Linked DNA regions of Homo sapiens: all the other regions are linked to region 1. Evidence: promoter capture Hi-C in 16 types of primary human blood cells and fetal thymus (Javierre and others, 2016). All regions are on one chromosome and are shown on one strand. Each heading gives the region's core, a stretch centred on a gene start or on the middle of the fragment in contact. The rest is flanking DNA. Distances are from core to core; before and after follow the strand shown. Region 1 holds the start of ACBD7 (acyl-CoA binding domain containing 7). Region 2 overlaps HSPA14 (heat shock protein family A (Hsp70) member 14). Region 3 overlaps SUV39H2 (SUV39H2 histone lysine methyltransferase). Region 4 overlaps DCLRE1C (DNA cross-link repair 1C).

Evidence for each region. The method cuts DNA at HindIII sites, captures the fragments that hold promoters and counts their contacts. A CHiCAGO score of 5 or more calls a contact.
Region 2: a fragment that was not itself captured here is called in contact with the fragment with the promoter of ACBD7 in region 1 in 1 of 17 cell types (neutrophils); the score reaches 5.5 in neutrophils.
Region 3: a fragment that was not itself captured here is called in contact with the fragment with the promoter of ACBD7 in region 1 in 2 of 17 cell types (neutrophils and monocytes); the score reaches 6.4 in neutrophils.
Region 4: a contact is called between a fragment that was not itself captured here and the fragment with the promoter of ACBD7 in region 1, in 1 of 17 cell types (monocytes). The highest score is 5.4, in monocytes.

What each region holds. Positions count from the first base shown.
Region 1 is chr10:15,087,468-15,090,170 of GRCh38, forward strand. It overlaps ACBD7 (acyl-CoA binding domain containing 7), which reads right to left and starts at 1,309. Exons shown (of 4, transcript NM_001039844.3): 1 at 1,250-1,309. The coding sequence starts at 1,261. ACBD7-DCLRE1CP1 (ACBD7-DCLRE1CP1 readthrough) reads right to left here and starts at 1,309. Exons shown (of 8, transcript NR_144471.1): 1 at 1,250-1,309. RefSeq lists a silencer at 1,094-1,483. The HindIII fragment of the contact is 6,812 bases long and covers 1-2,703 here.
Region 2 is chr10:14,852,584-14,855,286 of GRCh38, forward strand. It overlaps HSPA14 (heat shock protein family A (Hsp70) member 14), which reads left to right. Exons shown (of 14, transcript NM_016299.4): 9 at 1,542-1,697. Among named protein-coding and RNA genes, the nearest start is that of MSANTD7, 16 kb to the left of the region's middle. The HindIII fragment of the contact is 3,163 bases long and covers 1-2,703 here.
Region 3 is chr10:14,888,887-14,891,589 of GRCh38, forward strand. All of the region lies in intron 2 of SUV39H2 (SUV39H2 histone lysine methyltransferase), which reads left to right. Among named protein-coding and RNA genes, the nearest start is that of SUV39H2, 11 kb to the left of the region's middle. The HindIII fragment of the contact is 6,653 bases long and covers 1-2,703 here.
Region 4 is chr10:14,909,821-14,912,523 of GRCh38, forward strand. The region is part of intron 13 of DCLRE1C (DNA cross-link repair 1C); the gene reads right to left. Among named protein-coding and RNA genes, the nearest start is that of SUV39H2, 32 kb to the left of the region's middle. The HindIII fragment of the contact is 4,483 bases long and covers 1-2,703 here.

The DNA of each region.
Region 1 (2,703 bases), core at 59-2,558:
TGTGCATGTAAAAGATTACATTTTAGAGGCCGGGCGTGGTGGCTCACGCCTGAAATCCCAGCACTTTGGGTGTCCAAGGCGGGTGGATCACTTGAGGTCAGGAGTTGGAGACCAGTCTGGCCAACACAGCGAAACCCCATCTCCACTAAAAATAGAGAAAAATAGCCAGGAGTGGCGGCGCACGCCTATAATCCCAGCTATTTGGGAGGCTGAGATAGGAGAATCACTTGAACTTGGGAGGCGGAGGTTGCGGTGAGCTGAGATTGCACCACTGCACTCCAGCCTGGGTGACAGAGTGAGACTCCATCTCAAACAGCCTGGGTGACAGAATGAGACTCCATCTTAAAAAAAAAAAAAAAAAATTACAAAAATCAGCCGGGCGTGGTGGCGTGCACCTGTAACCCCAGCTACTGCGGAGGCTGAGACATGAGAATCGCTTACACCTGGGAGGTGGAGGTTGCAGTGAGCAGAGGTTGCAGTGAGCAGAGATCGCACCAACTGCGCCTCAACCTGGGCAACAGAATGAGACTCTGTCTCAAAAAAGAAAAATAAAATTACATTTTAGAATATTTAATAATGAGAAAATGCTCATATTACTGTTTTACGTGTAGGAATAAAACTATATACACAATAACATCATAGGTATGTGTGTAGATATATGCCACACACATACACACATGGAAAATAACATACTAGGACATACTAGGAATTACCCTAGCATGTAGCAGTGATTATCACCTGGGTGAAGGAATTATCATTGGATTATTATCAGTAATTATTACTTTATATTTGTTGTCTTTTCCAAAGTTTTCCACCCTTAACAATTTTTTTCACATACCTATAAAACAGTATTTTTAAATTGGAGCCTCACAGATCTCTTCTGCTCAGTATGACACTAAGAGAGGTCCTGGAGGTCCCAACGAGCGAAGGGGCGGGAGCGGGGGATCTCGACTCCCTCTCGGAGACGGAGAGGAGGAGGCCCGCTCCGTGCTCCCCGGCGCTCCTGCCTTGCCTGCTTTTCCGCTCACCCGGCCCCTGGGGTCCGGAAGGGTTGCCCTGGGAGCCCTGGCTCGCCGTCAGCAGGCACAGGTGCGGTCTACACTGCCATCTGGGGCGCTGGGGAAGGAGTGGGCGTGTCCCCCGGGTCACCGCCGACCGCTCCCAGGGGCGCCAAGCCCACCCGGAGCCCCACTTAAGCACTCCCCTCGCGGAGCGCCCCTCCCGCGTGGCCTCCCCGCGCCCCGGGTACCTGCAGGGCCATGGTGGCGGCTGCCGCGTTGTTGCTGCTGCTGTTGTCGTCCGGTGCTCTGCCCCCTCTCGCACCCACCGCTTCTTAAACGGCCGCGTCTCCTCCGGCCGCTGCCATTGGCCGCGCTCCCGGCCCGGCCGCCTCCCATTGGTCGCGGGCGCGGGGGCGAGGCTGGGCGGTGAGCGGTACTGCACGCCGGGTTCCCCAGGCTGCAAATGGAAAGGCGAAGACAGGAGAATTTAAATGAGTTTCTCTCCGCTCTTGGCTCTCTCTTCTATTCTTTCTCAAGCGGTTCTTTGCAGGAAACCCAGAGAGGTCTCCGTAGGGCACAGGCCTCCCCTGGAATGCCTTCGAAAGAAAGAAAGAAGGAGAGAGACAGAGAGAGAGAGAGAGAGAGAAAAAATATATATATATATAGAGAGAGAGATATATATTTATCTAGAGAGACCCGCCCCAACTCTCTTAAAATACATATGTAATTTTTTCAATTTAAAAAAATTTATACATGTAAATATGTATTGGCCGGGCGCGGTGCCTCACGCCTGTAATCCCAACACTTTGGGAGGCTGAGGCCGGCAGATCACCTGAGGTCGGGAGTTCGAGACCAGCCTGACCAACATGGAGAAACCCTGTCTCTACTAAAAATACAAAATTAGCCGGGTGTGGTGGCGCATACCTGTAATCCCAGTTACTCGGGAGGCTGAGGCAGGAGAATCGCTTGAACCCGGGAGGTGGAGGCTGTGGTGAGCCAAGATTGCACCATTGCACTCCAGCCTGGGCAACAAGTGTGAAACTCCGTCTCAAAAAAAAAAAAGAATAAGTAAATATGTATTTAAAATTTTATAAATTAAAAATTTATATATATAAATTTTTTTCAGAGGTTGGGGTCTTCCTAGGTATATATATATTATATATTTTTTCTCTAAAAATTATATATAAATTTATATATATTTAAAATGTTAAAAATTAAAAATTTTATAAATTAAAAGTGCAAATTAAAAAATATATATATATGTGTTTTTTTTTTTTTTAAGAGAGGTGGTGGGGGGGGCGTCTCACTAGGTTGCCCAGGCTGGTCTCGAACTCCTGACCTCAAGCGATCCTCCCACCTCGGCTTCCCGAAGCACAGGATTCCTTCTTTATACATACTTCTCTCATGTCCATTATTCCTAGAAACGTGGATGATGGATGTGTCTCCTCCACGCTGCCTCCAGGCGCTGTTTATCATGAGAGAAAGTGGCCTGTGGTTTGCACCTCTTCTCTTTATAAAGCAAAACCACCTAAATTCTGGACACATGCTATAATCAGCTTAACTTGTTTTTAATTATGGTAAAGGCACAGGACTAAACGCCTATTCAATTTGACTCAGTTTTCTAGGGGAACAAACCCAATGTCACTCCAAGTCTGCAGACACACCGAATAGGATTACATTTCCAAAGGACTGGAACCGAATT
Region 2 (2,703 bases), core at 135-2,634, 230 kb before region 1:
ATTTTAATTTTTTTTCCTAATTTATTTTAAGTTATCCTGCTGCAAAGGAGGATGTGGTTTTTTCATTGCTTGGAAACTGGATATTTTCATATCTAGAGTTATGTCCTGTCCAGGCAATTCAAAGAAGCAGAGGCCAGGCTGCCTAGTGCAGTGTGCTTGGATTTTTCACTTAGTGTAAAGAGACCGTCAGATACTGAACTGCATGAACGTAGATTTTAATTCTTCATGTAGTGCTCTTCTGTCTGGTTAAAGGAGTGTATAGGCACTGAGGCTTCATTGCCTTCTGAACAGTTTTTAAAAGTTTGGCTCTGGTGAAGATTGCATTATGTTATCTTCATATTCCAGTGAGTTATTGTCTTATGGAATATTTATCTTAATTACTCATCTGCTGCTAGGAATATTTCAGTCTTGTTACTGGATATAATTACTCTAAAATTCTAACCCTTTTGGATGTTACAAAAGTCAGATATGTAAAGGTTATACTTTGGGTACTGCTGCTCTAAAAAAAAAAAAAAGTGTAATTGAAATGGTATTTTAGCCAGTTTGACTAACCTAATTGGTTGAAGAAGTCTTGAAAAAGTCATAATGTCTCACTTGTTTGATAAAGACCTATACTGCTTTTTGTTACAAAGATGTTGTTTAAATGAAGTCATTGATCACTACTTAGTAAGTAGTTTTAAACATGAACTCATATTGGAGATAGTGGAATGTAATTTTACATATTTTGTTGTATGTGTCAAATTTTTTTGAAGAAACACTTGTAGGTTGTTTTTTCTTTTTAATGCTTGACAAATAATTTTATGCCATTAAACAGTGATTGTGCTGTGATTATAAAGGGTAAAATAGGAGACTTTGACGCTCTTACATAAATCTCCTTATCTCCTTTAACCTCTGTGTCTCACCTGGAAAAGGGTGATATCTACTCTACTTTCTTCAGAGTACAGTCTATTATTACAATTATATAATGCAGCAGTTCATGGTTACATAATGTAGCAATTCAGAGTATTAAGGAAATTGGTAATTCATTTTTCTTGAGGTGACCCCTTTAATTGCACAGAGTGTTTTAGGAAAGTTTAGAGGGATTAGAAGAGAAATACTAAAATCCGGAATAAAATATTGTTTCACTAATTTATTTTATTTATTTATTTATTTTGAGACAGAGTTTTGCTCTTGTCGCCCAGGTTGGAGTGCAGTGGTGCAATCTCGGCTCACTGCAATCTCCACCTCCCAGGTTCAAGCGATTCTTCTGCCTCAGCCTCCCAAGTAGCTGGGATTACAGGCATGCACCACCACACCCAGCTAATTTTGTATTTTTAGTAGAGATGGGGTTTCACCATGTTGGCCCTGGTTGATCTTGAACTCCTGACCTCAGGTGATCTACCCATCTCAGCCTCCCAAAGTTGGGATTACACGCGTGAGCCACCGCACCCGGCCTGATTCACTAATTTATTATTGTTTTAATAAGGATTATCCAGATCTTAGTTACAATATTGTAAATGGCCCAGTAATTTTAAACCCCAAAGGCTATGTTTTTAATTTAGATCCTTCAAACATGATGTGAGAGGAAATGCGCGAGCCATGATGAAATTAACGAACAGTGCTGAAGTAGCGAAACATTCTTTGTCAACCTTGGGAAGTGCCAACTGTTTTCTTGACTCATTATATGAAGGTCAAGATTTTGATTGCAATGTGTCCAGGTAAAACTGAAGTTCAAAAAACTTTTTTAAAAAATTCCAAGAACATGTTTGTTTAGGTATAATTTTCTTACTTTGGGTTTTTTGTTTGTTTGTTTGAGATTTATCAACCATCTATAATGTCTTCACTTTATTGGGGTCCAGTTTTTGTCAGACTAAATAGCTGTTACCAGAGTAATTACATAAGTTGTGATTGCTTGCCCTGTTATTTTATGGCTACAATTAGGAGTGTGCAAAGGCATCCTAGAACCTTCAACCTAGATCCTACAAGTGATAAAGTACAAAGGGAGGACGTGCTGTAGTCTTTGTGTTGCATATTTGCTAATAATAATGATACGGCCTATTCAAACCTCTCAACAACATAATAGGTGACTTTGAAGCATAGTGAAAATTTCCAAGACTGCAGTATATATTTTTTTAGGATTCTAGTGACTGTATTTGGTTAAATTCTCTTTTCATCTGTTTAGTTTAGCTTCTTCACTTTCCCCGGGCCTTCATGAAGACTCTAGATCTGCACTGCCCAATAAAAGAGCCACTAGCCACCTGTGGCTGCTTAAATTTAACTTAATTAGGATAACATTAAAAATGCAGTTCCTCAGTAGCACTAGCTGCAGTTCAAATGTTCAGTAGTCATGTGGCTAGTGACTGGTAGAAAGTCCTGTTGGACAGCTATGCTCCAGATCTTTGAAGAAAGAGTTCAGGCTACAACTCAAAAGATAGAAAAGGCATTGCATTGAATTAGAATCTCTTTTTGGACAGAGTATGTGTATTTTTCTAGTTCCAGAATTCCTTAGGGTTAAGTTTGTCCAAGTCCTCGGTATATATTTGCTTTATTAATCAGTAATTAAGAAGGAAATGAAATTTATAATTTTTCATTAGGGAAATTTTGCCTTTGTCACAAAGATTTCAACCATAAAAGTATGCTTTAATATCTATAAGGTTTATAGATATTAATAGATAACATTATTTTTTAAGCCACTCATCTGCATTTAAGAAGTTCTGTATGAAG
Region 3 (2,703 bases), core at 67-2,566, 200 kb before region 1:
CTGAGGTCGGGAGTTCGAATCAGCCTGACCAACATGGAGAAACCCTGTCTCTACTAAAAATACAAAATTAGCCGGGCGTGGTGGCACATTCGTGTCATCCCAGCTACTTGAGAGGCTGAGGCAGGAGAATAGCTTGAATCCAGGAGGCAGAGGTTGCAGTGAGCTGAGATCGTGCCATTGCACTCCAGCCTGGGCTACAAGAGTGAAACTCTGTCTCAAAAAAAAAAAAAAAATTAACCGGAGGTAAGAAAGTAGAGTCAAGTAGTATGGACAATTCTTCCATGAATCCTAGCTTTCAAGAAAACGAGAGGGCTACATGGGTATAAGGGTGTTTATAATTTTTTTCAAGTTTTTTTGAAAAGACCATTGTGATAGTAATTTTTTTTTAATTTTGAGGAGGTATTATGCATGTAGTTTTAGAAAATGAATGTTATAAAAGGTCAGATACTGACATCTACCCCATGACCTAGTTTCAGTCTCTGTCTTAGCAACTTAATATGTCTTTTAGAGATTCCCTACATATACAAAAGTTTATATCTCAGAGGAGGTTTAGTTTTATTTTGCTTTTTAAAAATGGAGCCTGTTTAAATGCTAGTGAGAACCAGCAGAGGGAGATACTGAAGAGACAAGAAGAATTGACCGAGGAAGTGCGTCTCTCTTTTCATGTCTGCATCCACCTTATCTCTAGCTCCATGGCCATGGAAGGCTGGCAGTTAAGGCAGTTAATGCCTGGTGGTTTCCATTTTCTCTTTGCATTAGTAACAAAGGTCATACATCACTGAAAATAACACAGGAGGTAGGGGTGGGAACCTTGAGCAAAGTGGAGGAGGTCTAAAATAGCCAACTTGAGAAATGGAAAAAATTCTGTGGGGGCAGGAAAAAGGGTTGTTACTATTATGAATTCATGTGAAGGGTCAAGTTGAACTTAAAGGGTGTTAATTGTAGTAGTATTGAGTCTCAATGCAAGGTGATTTTTCTGCAGCATTATTGTTGCTACATCACCCCTTCATACAGAATAATTTCTGACAAAACTATGGGTATTTAAGATAGTTCAGTTAAGAACAAGATCCTCTGTACACATTGATGGACATGCACATAGCTTAGTAAGCTGAGCAACAAATATTGCCTATAGCTTTGGTTTCTTAAAGTATACAGGTACTTTTGTGTTTCGAGAACCACCTCTATATGGCGTGGCACAAATTAATGATAGTCCACATCTGACAATATAGTGATATTCCTGAAACACTGATTGAACCTAGAGTGGTTAAGAACTAGAATAACAGAAATCATTATACTACAACCTGTATTTGAGAGATCAGGAAATTACAGCTCTAAGAAAATACTTTAACAATCAATGTCATGTGGCTCACTTTTTTCAATTCTGGGTGTCTAACCCAGCTATCACAATTCCTACTCTTACTGGCATGAAAATTCAGTGATTTTTCCATTGACTATAATAGTTCTCAGACTATGCTCCCATGGAACCACTGGTGTTTTCATAATCAAATTCCAGTTATTTATTTAGAGACAGGGTCTCACTCTGTTGCCCAAGCTGGAGTGCAGTAGCCTGATCTTGGCTCACTGCAGCCTTGACATCCCAGGCTCAAACGATCCTCGCATCTCCGCCTCTTGAGTAGCTAAGACCACAGGCATGTGCCACCACATGCTGCTAATTTGTAGAGACAAGGTCTCACTATATTGTCCAGGCTGGTCTCCAACTCCTGGGCTCAAGCAATCCTCCTGCCTCAGCCTCCCAAAGTGAGCCACTGTGCCCAGCCAGATGCAGGTTATTTTAACACTGATATTGAATATGATGATTATTTCAAAATTGGCAGAAAAAATTACCTAGTGGAAAGACAAAATTTTTTTGTACTTTGTCTTCTCATATGTTTCTTTTAAAGTTTTGGTGTTTGCTGCCACTTGTTGGCTATAGACAGCAGGTGACAAATATTGAGAAACCGTGAATTGCTACCTCCAAGTTTATCAGCTTGTATTTCCTTTAAGAACTCATACAGTTATTGTTGTGATTTGTATATTACATACCTTTTGGTACTCCTATTTTTTTGTTATACATTCAGAAACATTTAGTCACAGCCTAAGATATGGTGGGCAGTTGTGCTCATTTGGGGGCTATAAAAAATAAGATTCCATCCCTTCCCGCAAATAACTTAGAGTTTAAATTGGAAATTGGAACAAAAAGGAGTTGATGGTGATCAGTTCTTCTTGGGTATGAGAGACAGGAAAGACTTCATAGAAGAGGTGATATTTACACCGTTTTAAAAGATGAGATGAGCATTCATTGGACCAGTGGGAAAGGCCCTCCTAATTAGGGAGAACTTTGTGAACAAAGCAGCAGGGGCATCAAAAGGCCTGGCAAGTTGTTCATTGTGGCCAGTGTGTGTTGTGTGAATGGGGCCATGATGGAAGATGGAGCCAGAGAGGCATCAGGGAACAGTTCCAGAGTGGCTTGCTTTCTGAAAAGAGGAACTTTGAACTTTGTTCCCTAGGCAGGGTGGAAACCATTAACAGTTTTTAAGCAAAATAACAACAGGATAACTGGTTTTGTGGATTTTTTGTTTTTACAAAAAAAACTCCATAGTAAAGAAGGATAGAGTGTTTGAAGCTGTAAGTCTGGAGTAGGGAAACTAGTTGGAAGATTAATGTTTAAGAATGCAGGCAAGAATTGTGGGCCTGAAGTAACTA
Region 4 (2,703 bases), core at 96-2,595, 180 kb before region 1:
ATCTTATTGACATGTTTTATGCACAAGGTTGCAACAGGTTAAATCAACTTTAAAGCAAAATACTGAATAATCAACGTGTCAAGAACTTAAAATTCAAAACATTAATAAGCATGCTGTGTCAACAAATGTTCTTAAAATGAAAAAAGCCTTACTTAGAAAAACAAATATTTTCCCATCTTGTAACAGTATCTAACCTAGGAAGAAAGTTAAATGCACCCAAGACTACTGTGTATGGCAACTTCTTGTTCTACTGCTGAATCTGGTGTTATAATAATCCACTTAAATGATGTGGCTAAACACTGCATTTTTAAGACACTAATATAAAGGACCATAGAGACCATTATCCAGCTCCCATGTTCCCCGTGTGAAGCTAGGCCCAGAGAAAAGGGTGTGCCAATACACACGACCCAACCTCATTCTTAAAGGTTCAGTGTTATGACTTGTAACTGAACTTAGGGCTTAAGGTCACTAAGATATCTAACGACTGTATTTGGAATCATCCTAGACTGCAGAATGTAGATTTTAAGCCAAAGATCATATGTATGTTTTAGGTCCCTCACTACTATGCCAAAGTTGTTTTTTGAGTTTTATACAGTCACAGTTCAGCCTCTACCTCTCAGGCTCAGGAGATCCACCCCCATGCCCAGCTAATTTTTTTTAGACAGTGTTTCCCCTTGTTGCCCAGGTTGGTTTTGAACTCCTGCACTCAGGCAATCCACCCCCTCGGCCTCCCAAATTGCTGGAATTAGAGGCATGAGCCACTTTGCCTAGCCCAAAATTACCTTTTTATGAAATATTTTTGTATGATCTCTAAGTTGAACAGTTCTGCATTCCAAATCAGTGACTATGCCTGATCCCAAAAGACATTTATCAAAAAGGAGTGTGGATTGGGTAGATGCATAAAAGGCACAAAAGATTAAAGGAAGAAAGGACTTTTGCTTCCAGGTAAGATGGAGTAACGGACTAGATTTAACCTCCCACTTGAAATAACGAAAAATCAGAAACTATCTCTCAAGAAAATGGACATCGAGCAATTAAGGACAATGACATGAGAAATAAGACACAGATGAGTCCTATGATTGCCTGACTCCCTGCTTCATAACAGATTCCAGTCAGGGAGGGAACATCTGGATAGAGCCCATGGACATCCTTGATGTGAGGTGGAAGTGGAACATTGAAGAAATAAATGTACCTGGAGTTTACAGAGCAGAAGACCAGAGAGGAGAGTGCTGCACAGAAACTCTGAAAAGCTGCAGAGGCGTCCCCACCACGTGTTCAGTGCACTAAGCAGCATGTGCTTGTAAGGAAACTACCTGCAGCCAGGCAACGAATCACTCAAACAAAAGGAAAGAAAGTGCCCAGAACTCACCGTGCCAGGAACAGTGTCTTGTCCTGGTCCCAACAGCCAGAGTGGAAAACCTCATGATCCATGGGCATTTGTAAAAGAACCAAGAAGAGCCTTGCCTCAGTAGTGGGGAAAATTAACCATATACTAAATGCTACTCTGTTCCTGCATAACAAAGGTAAAAGACACGAAAAGATCAAACTATAAACATGCTAACCACATGCCAGAACAAAGCTCAAGAATGTTTTTAGAAATCCCAAAATTATGCAGGACCTAAAAAGGTAAAATTCAGAATGTATGGCATTCAAAAACAAATTATCAGAAATTCAAGAAGCAGGAAGATACAGTCAAAACTGACTGTAAAATTATGTAACATGGGAGTCAATTTTCATGATCTTGGATCAAATAGTTTCTTAGATATGACACCAAAGCATATGCAATAAAAGAAAAAAATAGACAAATTTAACTTAAAACCTTTACGCTTCAAGACACCATCAAGAAGGTGAAAAGACAAGTCTGAGAAAATATTTCCTAATCATGTCAGATAAAGGACTGATACCAGACTTTAACTCTTACAACTCAATACAAAGGTCAATAATCCAGTTGAAATGGGGGCAAAAGATCAGAATAGACATTTCACTGAAGAAGTTACATAAATGGCCAATAAGCACATGAAAGAAAGCTCAACATTAGTCATTAGAGAAATGCAAATCAAAACTGCAGGGTACCACCATACACTAGGATGGCTATACTAAAAAAGACGGAAGTGTTGGCTAATATGTGAAGGAACTGGAATCTTTACATATTGCCGGAGAGAATGTAAAATGTATTCAGTGTGGGAATGTTTGGCAGTTCCTTGGAGTGTTAAAACAGATTGACCATATGTTATGAACTGAACGCTTCCTGTCAAAATTCATATGTGGAAGCCCTAAAGCCAGTGTGGCTGTTATCTAGAGATGGACCTCTAGGGAAATAATTAAACCATCATAAGGCTGGAGACTTGATCTGCCTAAGTGCTAGAATTACAGGCTTGAGCCACTGTGCCCAGCCTAATTTTTACTTTTTTTTTAAGCAGAGACAAGTTTTCACCATGTTGGCCAGGTTGGTCTTGAACTCCTGATCTCAGGTGATCCATCCGCCTCGGCCTCCCAAAGTGCTGGGATTATAGGCGTGAGCCACTATGCCTGGCCTCCTGTTTAAGCTACCTAGTATGTGTTATTTTCTTAGGGCAGCCCAAGCCAACTATATGACTCCAAAATTCTACCCCCCACAAGAAATAAAACCCAACAGAAAGATACGTAAAGACTTGTACTCAAATTTTCATAGCATTATTATTTAAAAAGGAGAAGCAACCCAGA